Regions from separate parts of the Homo sapiens genome. Here region 1 is linked to region 2. Evidence: promoter capture Hi-C in 16 types of primary human blood cells and fetal thymus (Javierre and others, 2016). All regions are on one chromosome and are shown on one strand. Each heading gives the region's core, a stretch centred on a gene start or on the middle of the fragment in contact. The rest is flanking DNA. Distances are from core to core; before and after follow the strand shown.

Region 1 (4,165 bases), core at 527-3,026, 290 kb after region 2:
GCCCACAGATCTCTGCGTGGTTCGCTCCCTCCCTTCGGGTCTCCGTTCAGAGGCCTTTTCGGATCACTTCCTCTAATCCAGCGCCCTCTCTCTCAACACTTTCCGCTGATTTTCTTCACAGCAGTCATCTAAAATTACACTGCACATGCTTACGGACTGGGCCACTGATAGTTAATGAGCCCTTACCGTGTGCCAGGACCCTGCACGAATCAACTCAGTTAATTACAATCCGAATAGGTGGGGACGATGATTAGTCTCATTGTGCGGACAGGAAACTGAGGAACAGAGACGTTAAGCAACTCATCCACTGTCACATAGCCTGTAGGCTGTGAACTTGGATTTGGAAGTCAGGCTTTTCCACCAGGGCAGAGACCTTGTTTTGTTCACTGGTGTATCCCCAGCTCCTGGCCCACAGAAGGTGCTCAAGAAATATGTGTCGAATGAATGAGAGTCTGGGCTTCTCCCTCTCCCTGCATCACTCCGCAACAGCCGGGCCGGCTCTGGCGCGACTTTCTCAGCCCCTGCCCACCTTCAGCTACGCCGGCGGCCGCCACCTGGGTCTCTGACCACCACGCCCTATCCCTGCAGCCCCTCCTCCTCGGATGGCTCCACCTCCCTTGCTGGGCCCCGCCCCAGGCTCGCAGTCCTCCCGCCCGAGAGCACACGCACCTGGGCACGTTGATATCCCGGTGCGCCCGGGGCGCACGGGACGCCTTGCTGAAGGCCACTTTGGCGCCGACGCCCACGGCCAGGGCGAAGCTGATGACCCCGCACACGACGTAGGCTGTGCTGCCCCCGGGGCCCTCGCCCCCGCGGCCCCCGGCACCCCCAGTCCGGCCCCCTTCCAACCACCCGGCCTGGCCGGGCCCTGGCCCCCCGCCCGCACCCCCAGCGCCCCCGGCGCCCCCAGCTAGCGGCGGCGGCGTGGTGGCCCAGCGCGGCGTGTCGTAGTTGGAGCAGGAGGCCTGCGCCAGGCGCATGTGACGGTGCTCACAGCAGAAGCGGTAGTGGCAGGTGCCACAGCAGAAGCGGTAGGAGCCGGTGCTGCAGTTGAAGGTGGCGTCGTACTGGCCCATGACATCGTAGTAGCCGTGGCAGAGCTCGGCGGGAGGGGGCGCCCGGGCCGCCGCGCCCGCCCCGCCCGCGGGGCCGGTCCTGGTGCCGTTGGCGCCTGGGCTCGCCGCGCCCCCGCCGCCCGTCAGCGCCCCGGTCAGGCGCCGCAGGTGCGCCAGCAGGGCGGGCAGCGGGCCCGCGGGCTCGGCGCTCGTGGCGTTGGACGGGCGCGCCCTGGCCTGGCCGGCGCTAGAGGCCAGGAGTACGAGGAGCAGGAGGGCCGGCATGGGGCTTGCAGGGGGTCGCACTGGGCCGCCAGGCTGCGGGGAGAACGAGAGCAGAGGTTGGAGCGCTGGGCGGGAGAGAAACGGTCAGAGGGTGAGAAACGTAGAGATGGGTGGGCAGAGAGGCTGGGGAGGGCGGGCGGGGGGCGGCAGAGTGTGGGGAGCAACAGGCGCCAGGAGGCAGGAAGGGCGGAGGGAGCTGAGCTGCGTGGGCCCAAGTTGGCCGCCCCACGCGCGGTGGGCGACGATGGGAGAGTAATGGAAACGCGCCCGGGCACGGCTGGGGGAGAGAAATGAGCATGGGCGGACAGAACCGGGATCAGGCGAGAGATGAATGCGGGAGAAGCGATTGGGAGGGTCGACAGACACCAGAGGGGTGTGCAGACATTAGGACGAGGAGCGAGGCGAGGCGCGATGTAAGGAGAAGAAACGGGGGCGGCGAAGAGGAGAGGGCAGGGGAGGCAGCTGGAGGGAGGCGCGCGAAGGGGAGGGGAGGGTGGCGAGGGGAGTGGGGACCGCGGAGGGAGGGAAGGAAGCGAGACAGATGAGGGGTGGGTGGGAAAGGAGGAGTCAGGGAGACGGGGAAGGAGGGAGAAAAGAAGGGGAGGAGGAGGAGGGGGAGGAGAGGGAGGGAGGAGGAGAGAGAGAAGTTGAGAATTTGAGTTTATAGACCAGGCAAGTGGGAAGAGGCAGTGCACGGTTTTTCAACACTGACATTCGGGGACCGATGCTGCTTTGTGGTGAGCGCCTGTCCTGAGCGCTGTAGGATGTTTAGCAGCGCCCTCTCCATGCCAGCAGCACCACATTCCCCCGAGTTGTGACAATGTAAGATGTTTCCAGGCATTGCCAAATGTTCCCCTGGTGGGAGGAGGCCACAGCTGCCCCCGTGGAGAACCACTGACTTACACCCCTATGGTCCTCAGTGCCCCGAAATGCCAATTTCTCTCCCTTAGTTAGATCTGATAATCAAGGGATCTTAGGTGCCCTCCCTCCCTCCCTCTCTCTCCCTCTCTCTCTCTCTCTCCCTGGCATGCACACGCACACACACACCACTGTTACGGCGTCGGGTTTGAAGGGTCTCTGTCCACAGCTGAACCACAACCACAGCAGGGTGGTTCCCCTGCCGACTGGACCTCCTGCCAGCTGCCTGACACTGACAGGCTCTTATCTAAGCTCCCTGTGCCCCAAGTCCCCCATCTGTAAAATGGGGATAAGGATGGTTATCTCTGAGTGGTCAGGAGGATGAACTGAGGGAATATGTGTAAAGAGCTTAGAACAGTGCCTGGCATATTGCAGGTGAAATATGAAAGTGTTTGCTGCTGCTGCTATTTCAGAAGGGAGATACAGGCTGAGAAAGGGTCGTCCGGGTGCGGCGGCTCACGCCTGTAAATCCCAGCACTCTGGGAGGCCAAGGTGGGCAAATTGCTCAAGCAGGAGACCAGCCAGCCTCGCCAACACAGCAAAACCGTGTCTTTACAAAAAAAAAAAAAAAAAAAATTAGCCCGGCGTGGTCGTGCGCACCTATAGTCCCAGGTACTCAGGACGCTGAGGTGGGAGGATAACTTGAGTCCCAGAGATCAAGGCTGCTGGGAGCTGTGATTTCACCACCGCACTCCAGCCTGAGTTGACAGAGTGAGACCCTGTCTCAAAAGAGAGAGAAAAGGTGATGCAGAAGAGAGGTGGGAGTTGGTGGTGGTGGTGGTGGGCACGTCTTCCAGCTGTTTCTATGGCAACAGTCCAGCCAAGTCCCAGACACGCCCACCCCCGTGGACCTAGAGGGATGATAGAGGTGGGAAGGATGCCTGGCCTCGGGTTCCGGGAGAAGGAAACGTCTGAGCTCTACCTGCAGGAGGAACCCCCCAGGGGTCTGGGGTGACTGCCCACGGAGTCTTACATTTCCTCTCTGCAAGAACCTGATCTGAACAGCCCCTGCCCTGAGCTAGCTGCCGAGAGGCTGCCATAGAGCTTCCCAGGAGCAGGCATGATGCGCGGGGTGTGCATTCGTTCTGCAAATCTTCATTCAATAAATGTCTCCTGAGCAGCCTCCCTGGGCTGAGGATGCAGCAGTGAGTAAGCCCACAGGGTTCCTGCCTTTACGGGGGTTTACGTGCTAGTGAGGGGGGACAGTCAGCAGATGGACACAAATGAATGGGACACATGTTGACGCCAATTGTGAAGAAATAAAAAGGAATGATGAAGGAAGCCGTGAAGAAATGAAAGCAGCATAAAGGGATGGAGGGGGTGGATGGGATTGAGTCAATAAATATCACTCGGTGTTATTTTCTATTATATGCCACCATCCATCGTGTGTGTGTCTAGGGACCACACCACTGTCAACAACATTGCTGCTGGTGGGGATGGGCAGAGGGTTGGAAGGTGAACCTTCCAGAGCCTCAGTGAGCTCCATCGCCCTCCTGCTTGGGGCCTCACCTTTCCTTTTCAGCTCCAGCTTGGACCCCTCCCCTGACTCGGTGCTAGAATACCCCACTGCCCACTGGACACTTCCTCCTGGGTGTTTAATGGGAGTCTTAGAAGTGGCTTGACCCCACACTGTGGAAGAGAGTTTGGCGGTTCCTTAAAAAGTTAACTAGAATTGGTCCAGGCGCGGTGGCTCACGCCTGTAATCCCAGCACTTTCGGAGGCCAAGGTGGGCGGATCACTTGCGGTCAGCCTGGCCAATATGATCACTTGCAAGACCAGCTTGGCCAATATGACGAAACCCCGTCTCTACTAAAAATACAAAAATAACTAGCCGGGCATGGTGGCGTGCGCCTGTAGTCCCAGCTACTCAGGAGGCTGAAGCAGGAGAATCGCTTGAACTCCGGAAG
Region 2 (3,914 bases), core at 1,216-3,715:
AGGGAGGAGGGGCTGGGGCCTGGACTCCAGGGTCTGAGGGAGGAGGAGCTGGGGCCTGGACTCCAGGGTCTGAGGGAGGAGGGGCTGGGGCCTGGACTCCAGGGTCTGAGGGAGGAGAGGCTGGGGCCTGGACTCCAGGGTCTCAGGGAGGAGAGGCTGGGGCCTGGACTCCAGGGTCTGAGGGAGGAGGGGCTGGGGCCTGGACTCCAGGGTCTGAGGGAGGAGGGGCTGGGGACTGGACTCCTGGGTCTGAGGGAGGAGGGGCTGGGGCCTGGACTTCAGGGTCTGAGGGAGGAGGGGCTGGGGCCTGGACTTCAGGGTCTGAGGGAGGAGGGGCTGGGGCCTGGACTTCAGGGTCTGAGGGAGGAGGGGCTGAGGGCCTCGATTCCAGGGTCTGAGGGAGGAGGGGCTGGGGACTGGACTCCTGGGTCTGAGGGAGGAGGGGCTGGGGCCTGGACTCCAGGGTCTGAGGGAGGAGGGGCTGGGGGCCTGGACTCCAGGGTCTGAGGGAGGAGGGGCTGGGGCCTGGACTCCAGGGTCTGAGGGAGGAGGGGCTGGGGCCTGGACTCCAGGGTCTGAGGGAGGAGGGGCTGGGGCCTGGACTTCAGGGTCTCAGGGAGGAGGGGCTGGGGACTGGACTCCTGGGTCTGAGGGAGGAGGGGCTGGGGCCTGGACTCCAGGGTCTGAGGGAGGAGGGGCTGGGGCTTGGGCTTCTGTCTGGGATAGGAGGGCCACATGGTCCTGAAGGAGTAGGTTGGAGCCAAGACTCCACAGACCTGCACACAAAGGGTGTTAGGGGCCAGGAGTCCCACGAACCATATATAATTGGGTAAGGACAGCCATATTGGACGCCTGGGTCCCGAGCAGAAGAGGGGATAGAGGCTGTACTGCTGAATTCCGGGACTAGAAACCTCGCATCCTTGGGAGCCGGTACCTGCAGCTCCGCGAAGCCCAGCCCGGCCAACTCCAGCGGCTGGCAGCGGGTGCTCAGAGCGCGCCCCTTCTCTCCGCGCCGCTCCTCCGCCTCTCGCTCCAGCTCTTGCTTTGCAATCTGCAGCAGCAGAGTCTGCAGAGGGGTGGGAGGGAAGCGCAGCCCACCCGGGGCTTCAGGATAAAGACCAGGCGTGGGGAACCGCCTCTGCCCTTCTAAACCCTCCAGTTTGGTCTCCACTGTTCCAAGGCCCCGTCCCACCCCGAGCAGTACTCCCCGCTAAAGCCACGCCCCGAGCGGCCAAACCCCGCCCACTTCCGCCCACCTACCCCGAAAGCCCCACCCATTCTCAAGCTCCGCCCCCTGAGCACCTGCCTGCTCTTTCCCAGTCCCGCCCGTCCTCACCTTCAGCTGCAATTTTCTCGAGGCGGAGATCTTAGATTTTTTCTGCCAGGGTGAGATGGAGCAAGGAAGGATCATGGAGGGGGATTCGGAGACGACGGTGGAGGGGACCTCAAGACACCCCCAGCAAACCCAGCCGGTCCAGATTTGGGCCCACGTCCAACTTGAGCCCTGAGTCTACGGGAGGCCACGCCCCTCATTCCCATCCACCAATCTGGGTCTCTTCCTTTGGATAGGCACTTCCCATCTATCCCTAAGCAAGTCCGAGGGCAACGGAGTTCCGCCCGCAGGCTGCTGTCACCAATCCGAGCATGACCCTCTGCAAAACTCCGCCCCTGAAGCCCCTCCGCGTAGTCCCCGCCCCCTTCGCAGCCCTGGCTCCTCCCCCCACTCCCAGGGTCTTGGATCCCTCCGGCGCCTGTACTCTGCCCCCAGGAAGCCCCGTCCCACCTTGGCGTGCGGCTCCGTGGCATAAGCGCGGTAGTTGGAGGAGCGGCGTCTGATTGGGGCTGGTGCAGGGCGAGGTTCCCTAGCCTGGGTTAGGAGGAGTGGGGACCCCATCACCACCAAGACCCCACCCAGCCCTTACCGTACCGCACCCTCTGCTAGGGCTGCAGCCTCCCGCCCCAGACCCCTCACTGCAGCGCCCACCCTGGCCCTGGGGGTCCCAGCCACGCCTTAGCCCGCTGCTCTCACCGCATCGCTGCTCCTGGAAGGAGAGAAACCAAGGAGGGGGGTTAGTGGTGGGCTGTGTCCTGTCTCCTAAGGGACCCCTGGAGTCCCCTCTGAACAAGAGGTCGGGGGACCGCGCTTCCCCTTCCTTGGGTTCCAGGAGTCTGACTCGCAAACCCACTTCCTCTCTTCACCCAAGAGTCCCTACGCCTACCTCGCAGGCCAAGGGTCCAGCCTCTCAGCTGCGACCCCTCTTGGGAACCCGGGAGGTCGCCCCCAACTCCCACTGCCTTGGGGCATCACTCACCCATCCGCCATGCTGAGACTCAGGCCGGGAATGGCAGGAGGCAGGGCGAGGACAGGGGCGTTTGGAGGGTCAGTGAGGGGGCCGCCCGGGTGACCTTCAGGGTCCCAGGGACCGTCAGTCTCCTCCGGGCTGCTTGAGACTCCCCGAGGACACTGAGATAAAGGGCGAGGACACAGACTAAATATACTGTCACCTCCTCCTCCCCCTGCCCACTATGCCAGATAACGGGGGCGCGTGAGGGGCGGGGTGGGCCCTGCTCCAGCTGGATCACCAGCCACCTCCGGGCACAGGAATCCGGACCCTCCTCCCTCTGATCCTGGAGTCCTAGACCCCTCCTCCCTCAGACCCAGAGAATGCCCGACCTCCCAACCTCCTCCTCCCTCAGTCCCAGGACCCTGGGAGACCCTGGCCACTCCCTCACACAAGGAGTCCAGGCCCCCAGCCCCCTTTTCCCTCAGACTCAAGTGTCTGGGCCCCCAGCTCCTCTTCCCTCAGACCCAAGAGTCCAGGCCCCCAGCCCCTCCTCCCTCAGACCCAAGAGTCCAGGCCCCCAGCTCCTCTTCCCTCAGACCCAAGAGTCCAGGCCCCAGCCCCTCCTCCCTCAGACCCAAGAGTCCAGGCCCCAGCCCCTCCTCCCTCAGACCCAGGAGTCCAGGCCCCCAGCCCCTCCTCCCTCAGACCCAGGGGTCCAGGCCCCCAGCCCCTCCCTCAGACAAGGGAGTCCAGGCAGGCCCCCAGCACACTTCCTCTCTCAGACTCAAGAGTCTGCACCCTCAGCTCCTCCTCCCTCAGACCAGGAGTCCAGGACCCCAATCCCTCTCCCCTCAGACCGAGGAGTCCAGGACCCCAATCCCTCTCCCCTCAGACCCAGGAGTCCAGGCCACTCAATAAATGTTGTTGATTAATTTGAGGATGCAGCTGTGCTCGGGGCTAGCTCTCAGTCAATAGCACTGGGAAATCCATCCCTCGTCCACTTGGAAACCCAGGAATCTGGTTTCTGGCTTCCTCTGTCCAGCACTCCTGGGCCTTTCTCTCCCAGCCCTGGAGACGGACATAGGACAGGAAAGACGCTTGGACACACAGAAGGGTGGACACAACTTGCTTTACTTGAACCATCTGGGTGCTGACCAGGCCCTGGTGAGGAGACACCCCAGCCCCTAGTCAGCCACAGGGTGCCTGGGAACAAGGGGGCCAAAGTCAAGGGCCTGAGACTCAGTGTCAGATCCTAGGCTGGGCTTAGAGCCTCAGAAGTGGAATTTGGAATTCTGAGAGAACAATCTAGAATTCTAGGAATAGACCATAGAATCTCAGAAATGGAATTTGAAAGTCTACCAACACTCCCGGGGTGGGGGTGGCGGGTACTGAGTGGGAATGATTAGAATAAAATTGAGGACTCTAGCAGCGGACTTAGAATGGTATCAGCGGGTTCTCATCCTACAACCTGACTTTGGAAGTTGGAGATAAGGGGTGTCTAGGGGTTGGGTCAGACTCCAGTTTTGGAGTCTGACTCACAGTTGGGCGGAGCCAAGGCCCCCTGAGGCTGAGCCAGAACCTCTGAGAGTGAACCTGGAGACTCAGAGGGCAGCTGGCAGGGCTCACAGT

What was found. Contacts are between HindIII fragments. The CHiCAGO score rates a contact against its expected background, and 5 or more counts as called.
Region 1: a contact is called between the fragment with the promoter of SHISA7 here and the fragment with the promoter of TNNI3 in region 2, in 15 of 17 cell types (total CD8 T cells, activated CD4 T cells, naive CD4 T cells and 12 more). The highest score is 13.0, in total CD8 T cells.

The regions. Positions count from the first base shown.
Region 1 is chr19:55,441,524-55,445,688 of GRCh38, forward strand. SHISA7 (shisa family member 7) reads right to left here and starts at 1,777. Exons shown (of 4, transcript NM_001145176.2): 1 at 670-1,777. The coding sequence starts at 1,340. RefSeq lists an enhancer at 469-1,097 and a silencer at 591-680. The HindIII fragment of the contact is 48,275 bases long and covers 1-4,165 here.
Region 2 is chr19:55,155,267-55,159,180 of GRCh38, forward strand. It overlaps TNNI3 (troponin I3, cardiac type), which reads right to left and starts at 2,466. Exons shown (of 8, transcript NM_000363.5): 1 at 2,313-2,466; 2 at 2,030-2,042; 3 at 1,784-1,867; 4 at 1,337-1,378; 5 at 935-1,066. The coding sequence starts at 2,323. It overlaps DNAAF3 (dynein axonemal assembly factor 3), which reads right to left. Exons shown (of 12, transcript NM_001256715.2): 12 at 3,399-3,914. The coding sequence ends at 3,796. RefSeq lists an enhancer at 1,657-2,244. The HindIII fragment of the contact is 18,804 bases long and covers 1-3,914 here.